6 separate regions of the Homo sapiens genome follow, and regions 1, 2, 4, 5 and 6 are each linked to region 3. The links are contacts of gene promoters, found by promoter capture Hi-C in blood cells and fetal thymus (Javierre and others, 2016). All regions are on one chromosome and are shown on one strand. The core of a region is centred on a gene start or on the middle of the fragment in contact, and the rest is flanking DNA. Distances in the headings are between cores, read along the strand shown. Region 1 has its middle 46 kb from the start of MIR4499. Region 2 overlaps CRYL1 (crystallin lambda 1). Region 3 holds the start of GJB6 (gap junction protein beta 6). Region 4 has its middle 66 kb from the start of MIR4499. Region 5 overlaps CRYL1 (crystallin lambda 1). Region 6 overlaps CRYL1 (crystallin lambda 1).

Region 1 (2,700 bases), core at 27-2,526, 160 kb before region 3:
TCACAATGAGAGGCGAAGCCAGCTGGACTTCCTGGGTAATGTGGGGACTTGGAGAACTTTTCTGTCTTACAAGTGGTTTGTAAAATGCACCGATCAGGCCAGGCATGGTGGCTCATGCCTGTAATCCCAACACTTTGGGAGGCTGAGGCGGGTGGATCACGAGGTCAGGAGATCGAGACCATCCTGGCTAACATGGTGAAACCCTGTCTCACTAAAAATACAAAAAATTAGCCGGGCTTGGTGACGGGCGCCTGTAGTCCCAGCTACTCGGGAGGCTGAGGCAGGAGAATGGCGTGAACCTGGGAGGCGGAGCTTGCAGTGAGCAGAGATGACACCACTGCACTCCAGCCTGGGTGACACAGCAAGGCTGTCTCAAAAAAAAAAAAAAATGCACCCATCAGTGCTCTGTAAAAACGCACCAATGGGTGCTCTGTAGCTAGCTAGAGGTTTGTAAAATGCACCAATCAGTGCTCTGTAAAAACGCACCAATCAGCACTCTGTAGTTAGCTAGAGGTTTGTAAAATGGACCAATCAGCACTCTGTAAAATGGACCAACCAGCAAGACATGGGCAGGGACAAATAAGGGACTAAAAGCTGGCCACTCCAGCCAGCAGCGGCAACTTGCTGGGGTCCCCTTCCATGCTGTGGAAGCTTTGTTCTTTTGCTCACAATAAATCTTGCTGCTGCTCACTTTTTGAGTCCATGCCACCTTTAAGAGCTGTAACACCGCGAAGGTCCACGGCTTCATTCTTGAAGTCAGCGAGACCACAAACCTACTGGAAGGAACCAATTCCGGACACAACAAGGATGCCTGGCACTCTGCTTGAAAGTCCCTCCTGTCCAGGACATCTGTCCAGGACATCAGTCCAGGGTTCAGGGAAAGTAGCAGACTTGGGGAGGGGAGGAAAGGGAAGGGAGAGACAAAGGAGGGAAGAAGCAGAGAGGAAGGGCAGTGGGTCCCAGGTGCCCTTCAAGTTCAGCTGGTGGCCTTTGCTTTTTTTCCTTGGTGAAGAGGTTAGCCTCCTCTGGGGAAGGTGGTTTGTATTTGGCTGCAGTAGGGCTCCTTCTGTTCACTTTCCCTTAGCCTTGGTGTTTCTGCATTTTTTAGATCTCTAGGCCCAAGTGTGTTAGATCACCGCCCCACCCAGCATACTGACTGAGAATTCAATTTCCTCCCTAAAAGTCTGGCTCCTTTTGGCCCCATAGCTCCCTAACCAAACCAGGGGAAGGCTCTGGGACCTGGGCCACACTAAAGCCAGCCTGGCCTTTCCTGGGCCCAGCGTGGGGGCTCCCAGCCAGCCTGGCCCACAGGGCACTGGGGTTCCTGCCCAGTCCTGTGCTCTGGGCTGACATTCTTTTTTCCCCCCATGTGAAGATCTGAAATGATCTTCTTACCTTTTTGGAAAAATTGCCTTCTAATTTTGTGTCCTCAGATAAACCATGCTACTTTTTCTGTTTTGTTTTGGTTTTGTTTTCACCCGAATAATTCCCAGAATAACTTCACTTCTACTTTCTCTCTTTTATTCCAGGAGCTGGCTGTAGAAAAGTATATATTAGATGAAAATTTGTCTTAGGCCTCTTGTGAGGATTAATCTAAGAGGCTCCACAGAGGAGTGGTTGTGGTCAGAAAATGTTTCCTCTTCTGCACTTGGTATTTTTGTGTAGAGGCTAGAAGACTTGTGAATATTGTGAAATACTAGAAATACAGGCCACCAGGTGCAGTCCGGAATCCTTTCTTGGGGGCATGTCTCTTTTGGGTCGGCTTGGGTTAGGAGGCTGCTGGTATGTGATCTCAGAACATTCCCAACAGCCTCTGCTGAGTCCATGTGCCAGACACAACTAAAGGGGAAGAAGGTAATGCCTTCCCCATGTCAGAATGCCCAAATCCTGCTCAAGCTTCCCGGCGCCACTTCCCTGTTGAAGCCTGCCCCGTCCCTGCCAATTTCCTTGAAACTCTGCTTGAACTTACATGCATCACGTCTCCATCCTGCCCAGCAGCCACGGTGCTCTTGTTTCCGACTCCCCTAGCTGACTGCAAATTCTTTAAGGGCATCAGTCATTCTTGATTCATCATCTTGTTTCCTGTAGCATCTAGCACTAAGCAGGTTCTCAGCAAATACTTGTTAAATAAACCTATGATCAGGTATCTTAACTTCTACCAAGGCCAAACAAACAAAAATGAATCTATAAAAATCTTAAAGGCAGAGAGGAGATAAAACAAGATTGTGAGAAAGTACTGGGCCACCATCTGAAAAACTCAGAAAGAGGATACTGTTAAGCAAAGAAGCTCCCCAGAGCAGCGGGGCAAGTCAGGTCAGCTCAAAGCCAACCCGGGGCGGGGGTGCTAATGCCCAAAGAGCGAATGGTGTTGGCGTCAGTAAGAATAATAACTGCAGAACAGAAAATCAAATACTGCATGTTCTCACTTCTAAGTGGGAGCTAAACATTGAGCATACACAGACTAGAGTGGGGAGTGGAGGGGAGGAGAATGGGGAGCATGGGTTGAAAAACTACCTGTTTGGTACTATACTTGCTACCTGGGTGATGGCATCTCTACCCCAAACCTCAGCATCATTCACTGAATTAGTCTGTTTTCATGCTGCTGATAAAGTCGTGCCTGAGACTGGGCAATTTACAAAAGAAAGAGGTTTAATGGACTTACAGTTCCACCTGCCTGGGGAGGCCTCATAACCACGGCAG
Region 2 (2,700 bases), core at 64-2,563, 180 kb before region 3:
AGCTGAGGAATGTGAACACGGGCGGCCAGTCTGAAAAGCGGGAAAGCCGCAATTGCAGGAGTCAGGGTGCGGGCCTCTAGAAGCGGGCGGAGTCTGCGGCAGGCGAGGCCAAGCGTTTGCTTTGTAATTCTCCTGGAAACGTGGACTGTGGCTTGTTCAGCCTCGATATGCTTGTGTCCCGTGTGCGCAAACAAAACGAAACGCAAAGTGGCTCTCTAAAAGGGAGTCGCGGGTCACAGTGAGTGGCCCTGGCCCTCGCCCTCGCCGGTGGTGGCGTGGCTGTGGCCGTCCTGGCTCCTGGGCCAGGCCGCCTGCTCCCGCTTCACCGCCGCGCTCTCTGCAGACGCAGGGCGGTGTCCAAGCCAGCACACGGACCTGAGGCACCTGGCTGTCGCCCGCCGCAGCCGGTTGCGGGGCACGGCGGGGGTTTCGAACCCCTTTTCTCGCTTCTCGGGGGACCCCTGGGGCTGCCCTGGAGGCCCAGGAACCTCGAGGCCAGGCCCAGGCGCCCCAGGCTCGCAGCAGGGCAGAGGGTGCCTCCCTGCAGGCCGCTGTGCCAGGGTCCCCGCAGAGCCCTCCGGGCGGAGCAAGCCCCCAGCTTGGAGACGGCCTTCTGGGCAAAGACAGGCTCTACCCGCAAGCCTGGGAGGGACTGGGGCCGGGTGCGGGCGAGGGGAGGTGCCCCGGGGTAGGGAAACCGGGCTCAGCCGAGGGCAGGCGGGCCCGCCCAGGCCGCGATGGGAAGGGCGCGACGCATCGTCCACGGTCGGGCTCTCGCAGGCGGGCCAGCGCTACTGCCTCAGTCCTACAGAGCTCTGGTGAAAGACAGCGCTCAGATGAGACCTGGGGCGGCGGATTCCGCGGGAGTGCTGCCTGTCTGAGCCGTGAAGGCGTAGGGGAAAAGGTGGCGGCTTCCCTCCGTCCGCCCTCCTGACAGTGGAAATGCCCAAGGGGGAGGCATCCTCTGACGGGAGGGACCTCAGTGGAGCGCAGCTCTTGCAGATCATTATCTGCGCTTGCCTGCCTCCATCCCAAAGCCACGTGAGGCCAAGGAACACAGGTGGCTGATCAGACGTCTAACCTTAATACATAACAACTTGCCTCTTGCTTTGCAATTTACATTGCAGAAGATTCCAGGGCCCCACCTTAGCAAACAAACCCATGGTTCTAAGCTGCATTTCATCAAAGAATATCACTTTTTACGAACTCATTAAAAGCTGAACAAGGCCGGACTTGCAGGCATGTGAAGCCTGGAGAGCACCTTCCCACGTCTTTTGATGGCTCTAATCTTACTCCCCCCTGGGTCCTAGGCAGAAATCTAGAAAATCCTTCATGTCCTTTTACTACGATGCCCCGTCCTCACGCTCCCCTTGTCGTCAGCTTCTCTCACTCCCTGCAGCTGCAGGCGGTCCGTAGGTTGTAGGGTGAGCTAAGGAGGCAGGGAGGTCAAGAGGAATTGATTTCAACCCCTAGTAGATTGCAGGGATGGAAAAGGTGAATTTGTGTTTGACCATTTCACACACACACACACACACACAAAAAATCTCTTTTTAGTGTATACATATGTGTGTGTGTGTGTGTGTGTGTATTTTTTTAATTTTTATTTATTTATTTATTTTGAAACAGAGTCTTGCTCTGATGCCCAGGCTGGAGTGCAGTGGCATGATCTCAGCTCACTGCAACTTCTGCCTCCTGGGTTCAAGTGATTCTCGTGCCTCAGCCTCCTGAGTAGCTGGGACTAGAGGCATGCACCACCATGCCCGGCGAATTTTTTGTATTTTTAGTAGAGACAGGGTTTCACCATGTTGGCCAGGCTGGTCTCGAACTCCTGACCTCAGGTGATCCCCCACCTCAGCCTCCGAAAGTGCTGGGATTACAGGTGTGAGCCACCACGCCAAGCCATTTATAACATATGATAATATTATAGTTTTGTCATGCAAAATTCAATCAAAACACTATCATAGGTTGAACATCCCTAATCTGAAAATCCAAAATCCAAAATGCTCCAAAATCCAAAACTTTTTGAGCACTGAAATGAGATAGTGATACCTTTGCTTTTCTGATGGTTTTGTGTACACAAACTATTTCATGCACAAAATTATTGAAAATATTATATAAAATTACTTTCAGGCTAGGTGTATATGAAACAGAAATAGATTTTGTGTTTAGTCTCAGCTCCCATCCCCAAAATATCTCATTATGCATATGCTAATATTCCAAAATCTAAAAAATATCAGCCATCCAAAACATGTCTGGTCATAAGCATATTCGGTAAGTGGTACTCACCCTGTATAGTGCTTTGGAGAAGATTTTGGGATCCTGCTCTAAAGAAGTTAGGATGGAAGTGGTGGTCATGAAATTGTCTTTTTACAAAACTCATCTATGCCGCCCAATTTCTCCACGTAGGAAGGAATCGTGTCTCCTAGTGACCTGGACCTTGTCATGTCAGAAGGGTTGGGCATGCGGTATGCATTCATTGGACCCCTGGAAACCATGCATCTCAATGCAGAAGGTATGCATCTGGGGCCAGGATGGGAATTCCATTCTATTTAGTGTTGTCATGGGTTTTGTAAACAGTCACATTTTGCCTTTTCTTACAACTGAATAGAGACAGTATATAGGAGATGATGGCCAGCCCTGGTGATTCACAGACAAGGCAGGGATTCGAAACGCTGTGTACTGAGATGTAAATCCATGTGG
Region 3 (2,700 bases), core at 144-2,643:
AGGCAGGTGGATCACCTGAGGTCAGGAGCTCCAGACCAGCCTGGCCAACATGGTGAAACCCAGCTCTACTAAAAATACAAAACCTAGCCAGGCATGGTGGTGCGGGCCTGTAATCCCAGCGACTCGGGAAGCTGAGGCAGGAGAATCACTTGAACCCGGGAGGCAGAGGTTGCAATGAGCTGAGATCACACCACCACACTCCAGCCTGGGCAACAGAGCCAGACTTAGTCAAAATAAATAAATAAATAAATAAATAAATAAATAAATAAATAAATTTAAAAAGCCTAGAGATTTCTGTGTCTCTCCACTCTCCAAGTTCAAGGCCATTTCAGGGGCCTCCCCAAAGTTTTTAAAACTTGACTTGGGCAAATTCTTTAAGAACCTTGTTCTCCTCAAATAAAATATTTTGGAAAGCGGATTTTTATGAAGTCTTGGCTCAAATTCCATGACCTTTAACAGACATCTTAATTGTTTCGTGGGAGAATATGACCCAACAAGTGGCATATGGTTTAGGTGGGGACGTTTAATTACCGAACAGTTTTGTAGAATAAGCAAGTCACACATCTTTTGTCCGATGCGTGACAGGTTTGAACCTGTAAAGCCAGGTGCCTAAATAGCTTCCAACGTTTCCACCCCACCAGCCCTTGCACCACTCCCTGTACTGGCCCTGAGCTTTCTAGTCTTGACTGAAAAGCGGGGAGGCAATGTGGTCTCTCCTGGTGCACTGTCCCGAGGAAGGCCTGCTCCGCTTCCCCGGAGGAGTCTTCAAAGGATGGAGGTAATTAATAAAAACAACCCCTGTACCTCCTCTAAGTGGTCATTAATTAATAAAGAACCTCCAGGCTCCTATAGGAGAGGTCTGTGCACCCCGCGGGCTATGAGAAGGCTGGATCACCCAGAAAGACTGAGGATGTGTCCTGGCAAAAACACAGCCTGCCCCTCACACTGCTCCCCACGGGTGCACTAGGGAGGAAGAGTTCCCTCGAGGGCCTGAGCAGGCGCCCCACACCTGCACCCGTGCAGAGGGGGCTGGGCCCGCCCTCTGCGCTCCCGAGGGAGAGCCCTACCCCCTGCATCCCCGGTACCCCGTTCCCTCCAAGGGCCGGAAAGAGGGCCCCGCGCACTGTGCACTTCTTAGGGGTCCCCCACCCTGCGCCCCCGCCACGGGAAAAAGGTCCCCGCTCTGCGCATCCGGCCCCGGAGGGACAGCCCCGGTCCTGCACTCCTTGCTCCTCAGGGGGACGGTCCGCGCCCAGCGGCTAGTGCGCCCCGGGTAGGTGGGGGCGGGGGGCTCGTCGAGTGACAGCGCTCGCCTCCCGCAGCCCGCCCGAGCCGCGTCAGGGCAGAGGCGGGGTGGGGCGCGGTTAAAAGGCGCAGCAGGTGGGAGCCGGGGCCTTCACCCGAAACCCGACGAGAGCCCGACAGCCGGCGGCGCCCGAGCCCGACCTGCCTGCCCAGCCGGAGCGAAGGGCGCCGCCCCGCGCAGAGCCCGCGCCAGGGCCGCCGGCCGCAGAGCAGGTAAGCGGGCGCGGACCGGCTGGGTCTTGCGGGGGGCGAGCGGGCGGTGCCACCTCGGCCCCCCAGCGGAGGAATTTCCTCCAAGAAAACAAAACAGGTGAGGTCGGCGGCTGGTCCCCACCTCGCCCCTGTCGCTCCTGTCTGGCACCGGATCAGAGCCGGCAGAGCGCGGCCGGGATGGGTGTCTGGCCGCACGTGGGGCGACCGGGCCCCCGATCTGCCTCTATCCGCACCCTCCTGTCCACGCGCCCCGGCCCCGGCCCGATGGCAGTGGGCGCCGCCCGCGCTGGACCCTCTCTCTGTACGCAGAGGAACGAGGATGGACTGGTTTGACTTTTACCCCAGCGTGGTCCCCTTTGACTTGTACAACAGGTTTTATGAAGGTTTCATATCGTGTGTCTAAGAGGCCAGAGTGAGGGCCGGTGCCCCTTTCCCCCGTTTCATTTGCTGCGTGTTGGATTTTCTAAGCTTTTGTGGGTCACCGGGGTGTCCCCTTGGATTTGGGGAGAAGAAAGCCAGGTCTAGGATGCGGGTTTCAGTTCAGACAAACCCTCAACTTGGGCCGATGCATAAGTCCCCGGAGAACCGCAGGGTATGGGCTGCGTGATGGGCTTCCGAGAAACTTGTGAAATGCTGATGACAATAGCGTGGACGACAGTAATTAAAAGTAATTGGCGACACATCTTAGTTAAAACGTGCAGGCACCAGAAGGCACTTCCTGTCGGTGAAGAAGACCTGTCTCCGGTGTCACGGGCATCCTGTGTTTTGCAAACGGGGCTGACCTCCCTTCCTGGGGAGCAGGAAGGGTCAGGGTGAGTGTGGCCTGCCCGCAGCTCTGCACTCCCGGAGGGGTTAGGGACCTGCAACCAGGCGGGGACACTGGCCCAGCGACCTCAGTGTCCCCTGGGTGGGCGTGCACTCTGTTTAGTGTCTGATTGAACGTAACCGTGCCGGGTTGTTCTTTTCCCTCAAGTAGACTTTATGCCATACAGCTATTTTCTTGCCCCAGTTCTAGCAGAATCTAACCAGTGTTCTAGAAGAAAATGTCCTGCCCCCATGCAGTCTCCTTAGAATTGCAGGGTGCTGCTCAGAACTGCTCCTGTGGAGAGCTTTGTCTGTTGTTTGGATCCAGCAGCGTCTTTGGGGGTGTTGCTTGAAGCTTGCCAAGGAGGAGAGGGGGGT
Region 4 (2,700 bases), core at 16-2,515, 140 kb before region 3:
AGCCTAGGAGGTTGAGACTGCAGTGATCCATGATTGTGCCATTGCACTGTAGCCTGGGCAACAGAGCGAGACCCTGTCTGGAAAAAAAAAAAGAGTTTCAGTTGCTCCATATCTTTGTCAGCACTTAATACACTGATCTTCTCAATTTTAGCCATTCTAGTGGATATGAAGATACCCTAACATGGTAATTAACATTTTCTGATGATGATGTTGAGGATCTTTTCATGTGCTTTTTGGCCATATGTATATCTTCTTCTATTTTCTGATTCCAATTTTTTAAATTAAAATTGTTTTAAACTTTTATTTAAAACTTTTTTTAGAGATAGAGTCTCACTATGTTGCCCAAGCTGGTCTCTAACTCCTGTCTTCAAGTGATTGTCTCTCTTCAGCCTCTGAATTTCCATTTTTAATGGCTTGCTTGTTTATGAGATTTGTAAGAGTTCTGAAATATTTTGGATAGAAGTCCTTGGAAGATTATGTGTCCTGCAACTACTTTCTCTCAGTCTGTGATTTATCTCATCATTTTCTGAATGGTTCCTGGAAGAACCCTTCTCCCTCTCTTTCATACAAATTTACACTTGAATTTCATTTTTCTGAACTTTTCAACTGTGGCAACCTCAGCACTTTTAGGAAGTATTGCTCTTTCTAGAAGAGATATGCTGTTCAGGAAACCTTGGCCTTTTCTCCACCACATGTTGTCAACTAGAGTAAGTTGTCCACACTGGGCTGTGGATCTATTTAACTGTGCCCGGGTCAGGGAAGCGACTCCTTTCCTGATTTGGGCCACTGAAGACCTACGTCAGGTTCCCACCTTAAAGCTTGTGTCTCACGTGCAACAGCTTTGCTGGTGCCAAGATCAAAAAGTGCAAAAACTACCTGTGGGGTGGGCCTTCAATGGGGAAGATGAACAATGATATGATCCAGGCGAAACATGAACATGCACCCAATGCAAAGCCACCAACTTTCCTCTTATACCAAACTCCCGAGCCAAGGCTGGAGTTGCCACGTGGCTGTTTTATGACCCAGTGGTAACCTAAGCACACAAACGCCTACTTTGGGCACTGTGTTACCTGGAGTTCCATCAGCATCCACAGGCCTACATTTTGGTATGGAACTTTAAAAAAAAAAAAAAAAAAAAAAACCAAATCCTATGTAGTCTCCAGGATCACTCTCCTATCCTAAACATCAGAACCAAATGGATCACCGAGCCTCCCTTACCACTGTCTGAAAAATGTCACCTCCTGAGCCAGAGTCATTTTTCTGGCACAACCACCCAGAACTGTTAACAATTATTTTCTGGTCACCTTTGGATTTTAATATTCAGAGCCACAAATACGGTCTTTTACCACATTTTGCTACAGTTAATTACACCTGGGGTCTGGAAAAGAGTGGCGCTACTTACTACAAATAAGAATTTGCATGGAAAAGGAGGAATGAGCAAGAAATAGAAACAGATTTAAGGAAATCTAGGTGTTGGCTGTTCTAGCTCAAGCTCATGATAAATCACAATTTTATCCTAGTGAATATCCCAGCGATGGGATGGATGGACAGAGGGTGTGTGAATTTTAGAACCTCACTTGTATTAGAGTCTGCACTAAGAACCCAGACCAAGGTGCAGCATTATCCCAAACTTCAGTCGTCTTATTGGACATGCTCTCAATGTGTTTGCTATAGTTTGGTTGTTTGTCCCCCAAACCTCATGTTGAAGCTTGAGCCCCAGTGTTGGAGGTGGGAACTGGTGGGAGGTGCTTGGGTCCTGGGGGCGCGTCCTTCACGAATGGCTTGGCGCCCTCCTTAAGGTAATGAGTGAGTTCTTGCTCTGTTAGTTCCCATGCGAGTTGGTTGCTAAAAACAGCCTGGCACTGGCTCCCTCTCCCTCCCTCTCTCTCCCTCTCTTTCCCTGTCTCTCCATGTAATCTCCACACACACCTGCGCCTGTTCACCTTCTGCCACGAGTGGAAGCAGCCTGCGGCCCTTGCCAGATGACGCCCAAACTCAAACTTTTGTCGACATCACAATCATGAGCCAAATAAACCTTTTTTATTTATAAATAACCCATCCCTGGTATTCCTTTACAACAACGCTAAACCAATGAAGATGTGTTTTTATTGCGAATTCTTTTAAATAAATATTAAATAAAATAAGATTTATTCATGGCATTGACATGGGCCTTCATATTTCTTTCTTTCTTTCTTTTTTTTTTTTTTTTTTTTTTTTGTTGTTGTTGTTGTTTTTGAGACAGAGTCTCACTCTGTCGCCCAGGCTGGAGTGCAGTGGCATGATCTCAGCTCACTGCAGTCTCCTCTGTTCAAGCGATTCTCATGCCTCAGCCTCCTGAGTAGCTGGGATTACAGGCGTGCACAACCACGCCTGGGTAATTTTTGTATTTTTAGTAGAGATGGTGTTTCGCCACATTGGCCCGGCTGGTCTTGAACTCCTGGCCTCAAATGATCCACCTGCCTCAGCCTCCCAAAGTGCTGGGATTACAGGCGTGAGAAACTGTGCCTGGCCTTTACTTTGAATTCTTACTGTGCACATTTCAATTGTTCTTTCTTTTTCTTTTTCTTTTTCTTTTCTTTTTTTTTTTTTTTGAGATGGAGTTTCACTCTTGTTGCCTGGGCTGGAGTGCAACAGCGTGATCTTGGCTCACCACAACCTCCACTTCCCCGGTTCAAGCGATTCTCCTGCCTCAGCCTCCCA
Region 5 (2,700 bases), core at 188-2,687, 200 kb before region 3:
AGAGCCATTTAGAATGTGGAGGTAACAGACTCCTACCGGATCTGTAGATGCCCACCAGGTTTTATGTGCTAAGAAGAGCAGCAGCTTGGACCACCATTTACATAGCTGCATGGTCCTGGGACATACGATGGAAAGAATGAGGAATGGTTATAAAATAAGGAGGCTGAGATGCATAAAAATAGAAGAGAACCAGTCACATTTGGTTACCACTCAATTACGAGTGAGATTAGCATTACGAGGGACCCTAATTGAAAGCAAGTCCCGAGAAGCCTGTCGTGCCTTTGCTTTGGTGACATATACATGTCCACGGACAGGGCTCCTGGAGACCTCAGCACTTTCTAGGTTGCTCCTTGATTGCTTCAGTGGAAGCTGTCAGCCTCCTAATTTCTAACCCATGTTCTTGCTTCTAAGTTAGTTTGAAACAAAACTAGTCTAAATAAAGTTGCTCAGAAAATACCTCCTGAGTTATTTGACGAGACGTTTACTGCATCTCTTTAATTTTAAATTGCCAGATGGGTGAGAGGACACCTGAGTCACTTTCTTCTCCCTCACACCCAGCCCAGTCCCTTGACCAGCAGGAGTTGGTAACTGTTGAATAATGACACTTCTCTCCCTCCTTCCTACTCTTTTTCCATCCCACTATTGCTCACTTATTTAATGAAACAGCATAAAGTCCAGACCCTATTTTAAAAATTAATCTTCCCCTTTGGGAGGCCGAGGTGGGTGGATTAGGAGGTCAGGAGATCGAAACCATCCTGGCTAACACGGTGAAACCCCGTCTCTACTAAAAATACAAAAAATTAGCCAGGTGAGGTGGCGGTCGCCTGTAGTCCCAGCTACTCGGGAGGCTGAGGCAGGAGAATGGTGTGAACCCAGGAGGTGGAGCTTGCAGTGAGCCGAGATCGCGCCACTGCACTCCAGCCTGGGCGACAGAGCGAGACTCCATCTCAAAAAAAAAAAAAAAATTAATCTTCCTTATTGTTACAAATTATTTTTAAACAAAACCGATGTTAATTAAAGCAAATCAAATAACCCAAGTTAGCCATCTTTGGACCTTTCCCTTTCTTTCCTCTATGTTCCAGCTGCCCACCTCTCTCTCTCTCTCTTTTTTTATTCTTTCTCTGTGGCTCTTTCACCCAGGCTGGAGAGCAGTGGTGCCATCAAAGCTCACTGCAGCCTTGAACTTCTGGCCTCAAGCAAGCCTCCTGTCTCAGCCTCCCCAAAGTGATGGAATTACAAGACAAAGGCACCACACCTGGCCCCACCTCTTGCTCACCCCACGGGACCTCTAGGGGACTGGACAGGCAGTCCCTACAGAATCAAGACCCATTTGTAATCTCTGAGGAACCAGTTTCCGAGAAGCACCCCCAGGCCAGCTAGGAGCCCACCCTGCAGCCCCCAGTCCCTGCTTGGGGCCCTTTGTTTCAATCATTAGTGATTTCTGCCTGGGCCAAAAATAGGATGAAGAAAAAGGAGGCTTGTTCATGCCGTGCCAAAGTGGATATTCAGCAAATTGGAAAGGTTGCTTGTCTCTGCCCACACAGAGAAGCCTGCAACCCTCGTTGCACGGCCACGTGTTCCCTCAGTGAGTGGGGAAAGGCGCTGGCCAGGCGGGCTCGTACTCCCAGCGCAGGAGTTCAGGCTGGGTTTTAGGGTGGGCTTCCAGGACTAGAGCTGCTGACGGCCACACTGAAGGCCCAGGAAGAGGCTGGGCCCGGCTCTGTTGTGGACATTTTCTTCTCCAGTGTCTTTTGTGCTGTTTCCTCAACTCCTCGTGGCAGTGACTCCCGAATTCCCACGTGGAGGGGCTGAGGGAGGAGAATGTGACGGCTGGGGCCTGTGGGTGACAACGGTGTGCATGTTGCACTGCAGTCTCAGTCCTTACTGAGCTCTATGTTAGCATTGACAGAGTGGCAGTTTTCTACTGATAGTTTAGCCACACTTTACAAAGAGGCTCCCTGCTTTTTTCTCTTCCTTAGTTCAGTCTGGGAAGGCGATGGTCCGACAGGGCTGGTGGGGTCTTCGGAGCCCACCAAGTACTGTGCTGTATGGACAGGCCTGCTTGGGAAGGGGGCCGCGGCTGGCAGACTGGGGCGTGCGGTGGGCGTTGGGGGAGAGGCCACCAGTTAGCCCGCTCCCCCGCCCCTTGCTTGTGCGTGGCCTTTTCGAACTCACCTCACGTCTCACACCGAAGTCATCTGCCCTGGTATTGGTGGTAAATATTGGATGTATGGGCTTGCTGTCTGCAAAGCGCCCGTGCTCTGTGCGTCTCTTTGCACATCTGCACGGCCCTGCGGCCGCTCCGAGCTGCCTTTGAGCCCTCCCTGCGAGCGCGCCGCCGAGAGGATGGGCTACCCATGAAGCATCGAACACCGAGGGCTGGCAAGAGGCCCCAGCCCGGCTGCCTCCCGCGAGGGCGCTGTCGGCCCTGTGGGCCTCGCCGTTTTGGTTGCTCCCGGAGCGGGGGTGAAGGGAGTCTCTGTGGGCAGCCGCGCTGTCGGCGCGGTCACATGGGGCCCGGGCGGCGGGGAAGAATGCGTCCCTTGTGCTCCGCCGGCCTGCGCAGGCCCAGGCCCCTGCGCTGCGCTGCCGTTGTATCTGTCGAACCCTTTCGGGGGCGTGTTTCCGAGTCCACCTCGCACACTCCCACATGGAAGGTTTGGGGCGGGGGAGCTGCCTCCTCTCCTGTCTCGCCTCCTC
Region 6 (2,700 bases), core at 23-2,522, 220 kb before region 3:
TTTTTTAGATTTATGCCTAAGTAATTCTTGTGTATGTGTGCTATTGTGAATGGTATTTAACATTTTTTTTGATTTTCCATTATTAATTGCTACTGTGTAGAAATACAGTTTTTTTATATTGACCTGTATCCTGCAATCTTGCTGAGCTCACTAGTCCTTGGACTTCTTCATAGATTCTTTGGGATTTTCTATGTAGGCATTTATGTCTTATGTGAATAGAGACAGTTTCATTTTCAATCTATATGCTTTTTATATCTTTCTCTTGCCTTATTGCACTGGCTAGGACATCAATATGATGTGGAATAAAATTCTATTCCGGAATAGAATCTGTCCAGCCTGGGCGACAGAGTGAGACAGCTTGCCTTATTCCCAATGTTAAGGAGGAAAGCCTTGAATTTTTCACCATTAAGTGTGATGTTAGCATAGGAATAATAGCTACCTTTCATCATGTTAAAGGGATTCCCATCTATTCCTAGATTGCTGAGAGTTTTAAAAAATATCATGAATGGGTCGGGTGCGGTGGCTCACGCCTGTAATCCCAGCACTTTGGGAGGCCGAGGCGGGTGGATCATGAGGTCAGGAGATGGAGGCCATCCTGGCGAACACGGTGAAACCCCGTCTCTACTAAAAATACGAAAAAAATTAGCCGGGTGTGGTGGCAGGCGCGTGTAGTCCCAGCTACTCAGGAGGCTGAGGCAGAAGAATGGCGTGAACTTCAGAGGCGGAGCTTGCAGTGAGCCGAGATCGCACCACTGCACTCCAGCCTGGGCGACAAGAGCAAGACTCCATCTCAAAAAAAAAAAAAAACAAACACGAATGGGGGTTGAATTTTGTGAACTGATTTTTTTTTTTACATCTATTGGGATGATCACATAATTGTTCTTTTTAAATCTGTTTATATCATGAATGACATTGATTGATTTTAAAAAGTTGAACCAGTCTTGCATTCCTGGGATAAACTCCAGTTGGTCATAACGCACTATCCTTTTTTGTTGAGATTTTTTTTGCATATGTGTTTGGAATAGATTTTTTTTCCCCATGTAATGTCTTTGTCTAATATTTTGATATTACGGTGATTCTGCCTTCATAGAATGAGTTGGGAAATGTTTCTTCTTTATTTTCTGAAAGAGATTGTAAAGATTGGCAGTAGTTCTTTAAATGTTTGGCTGAATGTGGCAAACCCTGGGCCTGGAGTTTTCTGTGTTGATAGATTTTGAACTACAAATTTAATTACTTTCCTATAAATAGACTAATGAGGTTTTCTATTATTTCTTAAGTGAGTTTTGGCAGTTTGTGTCTTTCAAGTAATCAGTCCATTTGTTCTAAGTTGTAGGATTTCTTGGCATAAATAATTATTCATAATATTGCTTTATTATTCTTTTAATGACTATAGGACTGGCAGTGATGTCCCCTCTTTCGTTCTTCATATTGGCAATTTGTGTCTTCTCTCTTTTTATTGGTCAGTCTGCCTTGAAGTTTGTCAGTGTTACTGTTTTTTCCCTAAGAAACCAGATTTGATTTCATTGATTTGTTTCTGTTGTTTTTCTGTTTTCAATTTCATTGATTTCTGCTTTTACTTTTATTGTTTTCTTCTTCCTTTCTTTGTATTTAATTTGCTTTTTTTCAGTTTCTGAAGATAGAGGGTTGGATTAACGATTTGAGATATTCTTCTTTATTAATGTAAATATATAATGCTATACATTTTCCTCTCAGCATTGCTTTAGTTGAATCCAATGATTTAATATATTGTGTTTTCATTTTCAAAATATTCAAATATATTAGAATATTTCAAAATATTCAAATATATTAGAATATTTCAAAATATTCAAAATATTTCAAAATATTCTAATTTCCCATGAGAATTTCACCTTGACTGTAGATTATTTGGAAGTGTCTTGGTTAATTTCCACATATTTGGGGATTTCCTAGATATTCTTTTCTCATAGACTTCCACTTCAATTCAATTATGGCCAGAGAACATACTTTGTTTGATTTCTATTCTTTTAAGTTTTGTTTCATGGCCAGACTATAATCTATCTTGGTAAATATTACATGTGAACTTGGAAAAGTCAGGCATTCTACTCTTGGGTGGAGAGGTCTCTGAATGTCAAGTAGATCAAGTTGGTTGATAATGTTATTCAGCTCTGCTATAATCTTATTGATTTTTAAATCTTGTTCTGAGAAAGAAAGTTATTGAGGTCTCCAGCAGTAATCGTGGATTTGTTTATTTCTCCTTTCAATTCTGTTTTTACATTATGAAATTAGAAAAAACTAATTTTAAAATTCATCTAAATTTAAACATTTTAGAAATTGTATTTAATACCCAAAATATGTTAAATCCAATATAACACTTTTTTAGAGCAGCTTTAGTTCCACAGGAAAATTAAGAAGAAGGGACAGAGATTTCCCATAAAGCCTCTGCCCCTACGCATGTATAGCCTCCCCCATTATCAGCAACTCCCACCAGAATGGCACATTTATTACAGTTGATGAACCTACATTGACACATATTAATCACCCAAAGTCCATAGTTTATATTAGAGTTCACTTTTGGTATTATGCATCCTATAGGTTTTGACAAATGTATATTGACATGTATCCATCAATATAGTATCATACACAGTATTGTCACAGCCCTAAAAATCCTCTGTACTCTGCTTCTTGATCTTCTGCAACCCCAACAACTTCATGTATTTTGTA

What was found. The method cuts DNA at HindIII sites, captures the fragments that hold promoters and counts their contacts. A CHiCAGO score of 5 or more calls a contact.
Region 1: a fragment that was not itself captured here is called in contact with the fragment with the promoter of GJB6 in region 3 in 2 of 17 cell types (M0 macrophages and M1 macrophages); the score reaches 6.3 in M0 macrophages.
Region 2: a fragment that was not itself captured here is called in contact with the fragment with the promoter of GJB6 in region 3 in 3 of 17 cell types (M0 macrophages, M1 macrophages and M2 macrophages); the score reaches 8.6 in M0 macrophages.
Region 4: a fragment that was not itself captured here is called in contact with the fragment with the promoter of GJB6 in region 3 in 2 of 17 cell types (M0 macrophages and M2 macrophages); the score reaches 6.6 in M0 macrophages.
Region 5: a contact is called between a fragment that was not itself captured here and the fragment with the promoter of GJB6 in region 3, in 2 of 17 cell types (M0 macrophages and M1 macrophages). The highest score is 5.9, in M0 macrophages.
Region 6: a contact is called between a fragment that was not itself captured here and the fragment with the promoter of GJB6 in region 3, in 1 of 17 cell types (M1 macrophages). The highest score is 5.4, in M1 macrophages.

Annotation. Positions count from the first base shown.
Region 1 is chr13:20,386,850-20,389,549 of GRCh38, reverse strand. No RefSeq gene overlaps it. Among named protein-coding and RNA genes, the nearest start is that of MIR4499, 46 kb to the left of the region's middle. The HindIII fragment of the contact is 1,245 bases long and covers 654-1,898 here.
Region 2 is chr13:20,413,094-20,415,793 of GRCh38, reverse strand. It overlaps CRYL1 (crystallin lambda 1), which reads left to right. Exons shown (of 8, transcript NM_015974.3): 6 at 2,407-2,512. Among named protein-coding and RNA genes, the nearest start is that of MIR4499, 19 kb to the left of the region's middle. RefSeq lists enhancers at 1-516, 2,434-2,700. The HindIII fragment of the contact is 5,121 bases long and covers 1-2,700 here.
Region 3 is chr13:20,231,012-20,233,711 of GRCh38, reverse strand. GJB6 (gap junction protein beta 6) reads left to right here and starts at 1,393. Exons shown (of 5, transcript NM_001110219.3): 1 at 1,393-1,518; 2 at 2,207-2,330. The HindIII fragment of the contact is 2,257 bases long and covers 1-1,988 here.
Region 4 is chr13:20,366,762-20,369,461 of GRCh38, reverse strand. No RefSeq gene overlaps it. Among named protein-coding and RNA genes, the nearest start is that of MIR4499, 66 kb to the left of the region's middle. The HindIII fragment of the contact is 890 bases long and covers 821-1,710 here.
Region 5 is chr13:20,435,575-20,438,274 of GRCh38, reverse strand. All of the region lies in intron 4 of CRYL1 (crystallin lambda 1), which reads left to right. Among named protein-coding and RNA genes, the nearest start is that of MIR4499, 3.1 kb to the right of the region's middle. The HindIII fragment of the contact is 4,325 bases long and covers 1-2,700 here.
Region 6 is chr13:20,452,527-20,455,226 of GRCh38, reverse strand. All of the region lies in intron 3 of CRYL1 (crystallin lambda 1), which reads left to right. Among named protein-coding and RNA genes, the nearest start is that of MIR4499, 20 kb to the right of the region's middle. The HindIII fragment of the contact is 7,348 bases long and covers 1-2,700 here.